2 separate regions of the Homo sapiens genome follow, and region 1 is linked to region 2. The links are contacts of gene promoters, found by promoter capture Hi-C in human tissues and cell types (Jung and others, 2019). All regions are on one chromosome and are shown on one strand. The core of a region is centred on a gene start or on the middle of the fragment in contact, and the rest is flanking DNA. Distances in the headings are between cores, read along the strand shown. Region 1 overlaps TUBGCP3 (tubulin gamma complex component 3). Region 2 holds the start of ANKRD10 (ankyrin repeat domain 10).

What was found. Contacts are between HindIII fragments. The study calls those that stand out against the background at their distance.
Region 1: a contact is called between a fragment that was not itself captured here and the fragment with the promoter of ANKRD10 in region 2, in 1 of the 25 tissues and cell types used here (lymphoblastoid cells).

The regions. Positions count from the first base shown.
Region 1 is chr13:112,571,460-112,574,773 of GRCh38, reverse strand. All of the region lies in intron 1 of TUBGCP3 (tubulin gamma complex component 3), which reads left to right. Among named protein-coding and RNA genes, the nearest start is that of TUBGCP3, 15 kb to the left of the region's middle. The HindIII fragment of the contact is 4,851 bases long and covers 1-3,314 here.
Region 2 is chr13:110,913,368-110,916,684 of GRCh38, reverse strand. It overlaps ANKRD10 (ankyrin repeat domain 10), which reads left to right and starts at 1,616. Exons shown (of 6, transcript NM_017664.4): 1 at 1,616-1,960. The coding sequence starts at 1,751. RefSeq lists silencers at 775-934, 1,065-1,724, 1,995-2,364 and enhancers at 302-976, 2,475-2,604, 2,328-3,004. The HindIII fragment of the contact is 23,501 bases long and covers 1-3,317 here.

The DNA.
Region 1 (3,314 bases), core at 345-2,844, 1.7 Mb before region 2:
CCTTTGATTCATCAGTTTCATACCCAGTCTGCTTCTCTTACCCATTGTTCAGAGTCTGATTGGAGGTGTTTTATGTATTTTTGCCAGAGTTTTACATTGTCATCAGTAGTGGAGTGTGCTTACTCTGTCTTGACGGAGATGACTTCTGTCTCTAGTTTCTTCTTTCAAGTCAATCCTGTTTGTTTTCTTTACATCTTTCAGGGATTCTTCAGTTTCTGTTTCACCAAGAGTGCTCTTCTTAGATCCACTTTTCTGGTTTTGTTTATATCTTCCTTAAATCCTTTGTTACATTTCTGGGGATTTTGGATTGTCTATGGATTGGGCAGGGGAAGTCACACTGTGAGCTCAGAGTGCCCACTTGAAGATTCTCTGTGGATTGGGCAGGGGAAGCCACACTGAGCTCAGAGTGCCCACTTGAAGATTCTCTGTGGATTGGGCAGGGGGAAGCCACACTGAGCTCAGAGTGCTCACTTGAAGATTCTCTGTGGATTGGGCAGGGGAAGCCACACTGTGAGCGTGGAGTGCCCACTTGAAGATTCTTTGTGGATTGGGCAGGGGGAAGCCACACTGTGAGCTCAGAGTGCCCACTTGAAGATTCTCTGTGGATTGGGCAGGGGGAAGCCACACTGTGAGCTCAGAGTGCCCACTTGAAGATTCTCTGTGGATTGGGCAGGGGAAGCCACACTGAGCTCAGAGTGCCCACTTGAAGATTCTCTGTGGATTGGGCAGGGGAAGCCACACTGTGAGCTCAGAGTGCTCACTTAAAGATTCTCTGCGGATTGGGCAGAGGAAGCCATACTGAGCTCAGAGTGCCCACTTGAATTTCCAGGTGCCACTCATAGTTCCACTTCCTTCCTAGGATGGAGAACAGTGTTGGCTTTTGCTGGCAGATGCAGCTGGGCACTGCCCTGTTGGGCTGCTCCTCTGCATCCCGGGTTGAACTGGGCCCAGCACTCAGTGGTGGGGGTGGGGGGATCTGGAGGTATCTACTGGTAACTTGACTTCTAGAGTCATAGAAGTTGGGCAGACAGGCAGGCTATCCCACCCTGGCACCAGCTCCAATCCACTTATTGAAGTGATTGCTTTCGGAAGGTGGAGGCTTTCTGAAAGATTTCTTCCTGACCCTTGACGTTCTTTTGCTGCTGAGATTGTAGTGGGGAACATTCTTCTCCCAGATCCCTTGTACTGAGGGTGGGAGTTCCTCAGATTGGGAGTTTGCCTCTGCAGAGATGAGAGCCTGGATTTTTTCCTGGGGCTAAGGCAGTTGCTGTGAACCATGTAACTTCCAAGGCCCTTCCCTTCTCATCCTTTCTGTCTTGTATGACTTCTTTGGACATTTATTCCACTCCAGGTTTCTCCCTCCCCACTTCTGCCTGGGCTGATCTGGTGATTTCCTTGTCTTGGCTGTCGTAATTTCCATCTTTTTGCCTTTTTGTTTTAGTTTTTGAGAGACTTCTTCAACTTTAAATACAAGCTTTCTACTTATTTTAAAAAACATCTGCCTTCATACTTTTAATATTCAAGAGCTTGTCTTCTCTGAATTTATGGCATACTGTTTTGTTTCATGGATGTGTTATGTCTAATCTCGTAGGCCATTATAGCTTGTTTTTGTACATCTTGCCCCCATTTTCTTATTCCCTACGTTGTTACTTTTTCTTAGAGTTTCCTTTTTTCCTTCTTGTGTTTGTCTCCTTTTTGTTTTAGATGATGCCCTCAGGTATCTGGCGATACCTGTTCTTTTCATCTTTAAGAGTGGAGTTGTCGGAAGGTCTTGGCTAGGGCAGCATTTGCCCAGTGCTGAGCTTCCTTGTGGAGGACAGGCACACGTCATCTTATTGTCCTTTACAGATACTGCGTTATTTGACAATTGGAAGTTTTTGGCACCCTGCGTTGGGCAAGTCTTTAGGTACCATTTTTCCAACAGCATGTGCTCACTTTGTATCTCTGTGTCATATTTGGAAATTCTCACAGTATTTCAGACTTTTTCATGATTATTACATCTGTTACGTTGATGTGTAACTTGTGATCTTTGATGCTGCTGTTGTAATTGTTTTGGGGTGCCATGAAGTGCGCAAACTTAATCAAAAAGTGTTGTGTATGTTCTGACTACTCTGCCGACCAGCTGTTCCCTGTCTCACCCTCTCTCCTCAGGCCTCCCTATTTCCTGAGTCACAACAATATTGAAATTAGGCCAGTTAATAGCCTTACAGTGACCTCTTACTGTTTAAGTGAAATTAGTGATCAACAGAAAACCAAACATGACCTTCTCACTCATAAGTGGGAGTTGAACAGTGAGAACACATGGACACAGAGAGGGGAACAACACACACCAGAGCCTGTTGGAGGGTGGGGGGTGAGGGGCGGGAACTTAGAGGACGGGTCATTAGGTGCCGCAAACCAGCACAGCACACGTATACCTATGTAACAAACCTGCCACACGTGTACCTGTGTAACAAACCTGCACGTTCTGCACATGTATCCCGCTTTTTGTTTTTTAGAAGAAATAATAATAAAAGAAATTAGTGTTCAAGTGAAATGAAGAGTCACATGCCTCTCACTTTAAATCAAAAGCTAGAAATGGTTAAGCTTGGTGAGGAAGGCATGCCAAAAGCTGAGATACGCGAGAAGCTAGGCCTCTTATGCCAGTTAGTCAAGTTGTGATTGAATAGGAAAAGTTCTTGAAGGAAATTACAAATGCTATTCCAGTGAACACAAGAGTAATAAATTGAAACAGCCTTATTGCTAATATGGAGAAAGTTTGAGTGGTCTGGATAGAAGATCAAACCAGCCACAGCATTCCTTTAAGCCAAAACCTAATCTTGAGCAAGACCTTAATTCTGTGAAGGCTGAGAGAGGTGAGGAAGCTGCAGAAGAAAAGTTAGAAGCTAGCAGGGGTTTTTAGTTCATGAGACTGAAGGAAAGAAGCTGTCTCCATAACATAAAAATGCAAGGTGAAGCAGCACCTGCTAATGGAGAAGCTGCAGCAAGTCATCCAGAACTAGCTGAGATCATTGGGGAAGGTGGCTACACTAACAACAGATTTTCAGTGTAAGTGAAACACCCTTCTATTGGAATAAGATGCCATCTTATTGGCGTCTAATAAGATGCCAACTTTCATTCCTAGAGAGGAGAAGTTAGTGCCTTCCTTCAGAGCTACAAAGAATAAGCCGACTCTTGTCTGGGGCTAATGCAGCAGGTGACTGAAGTTGTTGAAGCCAGTGCTCGTTGACCATTCCAAAAATCCTGGGGCCCTTAGGAGTTATGCTAAATCTACTCTTCCTGTGCTCTAGAAATGAAACGACAAAGCCTAGATG
Region 2 (3,317 bases), core at 367-2,866:
GATTATTCTTTCCTGCTTCACTAACAGATTACAAACTCCCTGGGAGAAGATAGATTCTATGTGTCATATTTTCCATTCATTAGCAATTGCTCACTGAATTGAAATATTTGCTACTTCCCCACTATAGAGTGTTTCTCAATGTGTTTCATTCAGCATTGTACTCAACAAATGTTTGCTGTATGAAGACATGTCTGTGTTGAGTGTTTACACCACTAGTTAACAACTTCCCTTTGTTAAATCTTAGGTTTCTATTTTTTCGTTTTATTAACCAATGCTGCAATATGCTTTCTCGTGCATCAGTACTTCCCTAGACATCTAATTGCCTTGTTCAATTTGTGACGTAGAATTTTGCAAAAAGGAAGTTTACACAGCGAAAAACTATATATACAAATGAAATAAAATACATGATTTAAAAAGACCGCATATTTAGAAGCAAAGGAAATATTCATAAACATTGTGGTTATTCCTCAATAGTGAAATTACTGATGCTTTCATAATCAGAATAAAATTACATATGTAATAAAGTCCGTGATACTGTCATTCAAAATAGGGGATTTGGTACTCCCTTACATTTATACAGTTCTCAACAAAAAGCCTTTTATTGTTTGCTCTGTCTGGTCTTCTCGCTTATCTCTTAAACTTGCAAACGTATAGTCCTAGCCCACCGCACTCGGTTCCGAAGAAGGCGTCCCTCGGACAAAACCGAGGAATCTGTCCTGCTCTGTAAGGAACTAGGGCTTGCTGATTCCCAGATTTTAACGAGAATCCCTGCTCCCCGTAGGCGCTCCATAAATTTTTACTGGACAACTTCACCGCGCGCTACTGGGCCTCCGGGAGACCCGTGACTCCCACCCGCTCTGGGCGCGGGCCCGCAGAGCCTCAACCCGCGCCCCCGGCAGCCGGGATTCCCCGCCCGGACCGGCTCCCAGGCTGGAAACATCATGGTCCGCACCCGGGGCGCAGCCGAGACCCACCGCGCCGGAGGCCCCGGGACCCGCTCAGACCGCTGCTTGGCCACTCTACGCCCCTGAGCCCCCCACACAGCCAGCCCCGTGACCTCCGAGCCCCGTGACCTCCGAGCCCCGTGACCTCCAAGCCCCGGAAGCCGCTGTAGGCAGCGGCCCAGCCAGGCCCCGCCCCCTCCACCGGAGCTCCACGCGTCAATTCCAGCCAGGCCCCGCCCCCGGCCGCCCCAGGCGTGGACCCAAGCCAGGCCCCGCCCTCTGCCTGGCTACTCCAGGCGCCCACCGCCCCAGGCGTCCTCTAGCCCAAGCCCAATGCCCGGCTGCTCCAGACGTCGACAGCCCCATGCCCCGCCTCCTAATCGGCTGCTGCTGGCGTCCTCTGGTCCAGGCTCCGCTCCCTACCCGGCTGCTCCAGGCATCCTCTAGGCTAGACCCCGCCACCTACCGGCCGCTCCAGGCGTCCGCAGCTCCAAGCCCCGCCCTCCGCCCGGCTGCTCCAGGCGGCCTCCGGCTCAAGCCCCGCCCCCTGCCCGGCGGCTCCAGAGGTCCGCGGCTCCAGGCCCCGACCCCTGCCCGGCTGCACAAGGCGTCCTCTGGGCCAGGCCCCGCCCCCAGCCCGGCCGCTCCAGGCCCCGCCCCGCCCCCTCTGTGCGCGCTCCGCTCGGCAGCCTGTGGGACGCGACCGCGGCGCTAGTCTCGTTCCTTTGTGCTGCGGCGGCGGCTTCTCGAGTCCTCCCCGACGCGTCCTCTAGGCCAGCGAGCCCCGCGCTCTCCGGTGACGGACCATGTCGGCGGCGGGAGCGGGCGCGGGCGTAGAGGCGGGCTTCTCCAGCGAGGAGCTGCTCTCGCTCCGTTTCCCGCTGCACCGCGCCTGCCGCGACGGGGACCTGGCCACGCTCTGCTCGCTGCTGCAGCAGACACCCCACGCCCACCTGGCCTCTGAGGACTCCTTCTATGGCTGGACGCCCGTGCACTGGGCCGCGCATTTCGGCAAGGTGGGTGCGAACGCTTTAAGGCGCCATTTTCCCCGGCTGTCCAGTGGGAGTCGGGGAAAGCGGGTCTGAGGTGCGGGGGACGTGGGGCGTGCCGGGATCGCGGGGCGGAAGCGGGATCGACGGCGCCTGTGCCCCGAGGGGCCTAGGGCGCCTGTGCGGCAGCGCTCGCGGCCCGGAGTCGCGGCGGGGCAGCCGGGGGGCGCGGGGCGGAAGCGAGGTCGGTGGCGCCTGCGTCCGGAGGGGCCTAGGGCGCATGTGCGGCGGCGCGCGTAGCAAGTTTCTAACAAGGCGGGCTCCAAGGGTCCCGGCGCCTGTTGGCCGGATCCTGTGCGAGCGCGCGCGCGCGCGGATGGTGCGGGGCCCTCCAGGCCGGGCCGGAGGCGCGAGCGATTTCGCAGAGCCGGGTATTAGGCCGCGAAGTCGCCCAGGCGGCTTCCGGGGAGCCGAGCTGGGGTCAGAGGCGCGCGGGGAATGCCCGGGCGCGGTCGACCTTCTGGTTCCGCACAGCCTCGCCAGTAGCCGAGGGCCGCGCTGCGGACGAGCTCAGCCGAGGAGCAAGCGCCCCGGCGGGACTGGAAGGCCCCGGCAGCTGTGTGGGATGGAGGCCGGCTCTCCAGCTTCTGGGTTTGCTTTAAGGCTTGTAGCTGGCCCCGCTTCAGCAAAATTAGTGACGGCTGTGTTTATCTTGGATCTAAATTACTGCAGAAGTGGTTAAATTAAGCAGAATTCTCTTCCCGTGGAGGCTTTACGTTCCCCTCTTTTTTCTTAAACTGAAAATTCTGGGGGAACACAGTGCTGCTTTAAGGTTTTAAAAGGTTGGATAGCTACCGTTTCCTCATCTGTGAAGTCGTTGGGGTACTTGCTCTCAGAAATCTTAAATAAGATTTCACCGTGCATTTCAGAAGTGACTGGTTTTAATTAATATTTCTTAATTCACTGAAATTCAGGGATGTGTATAGTGTTTTTCTCGTAAGTGATGAGATGGGGTTAAATGGTTTTGCAGAAATATGTGAGAGGTAATGTGAAATAAGTTACTTTAAGAAGGCCTGGCCCTGGTAATGTCGTTACCAGCTGATGAAGTTGCGGTTTACCTTGCTGCCCCTGGTGCTACATTCACAAAGCAGCTGTGTCTTTTGGAAAGCAGTTTCTGATTCTTTTAAAGTGGAAAAGTCACTTTTCTTTCAATAAAAGAAATGAAAAGGAGTTTTGACGATCGGGGTGGGACAAGCAAGTTAATCAGTCCTCAAGGGCTGTTAGGTTCCTGTGGCACTGTCTCTGAAGTTGTGCAACCGTAGTACCTGCTGGAGAAAACAGGTGCCCAGGGGAAATGAGTTTCTTAACAAACAAAAGTAATAAA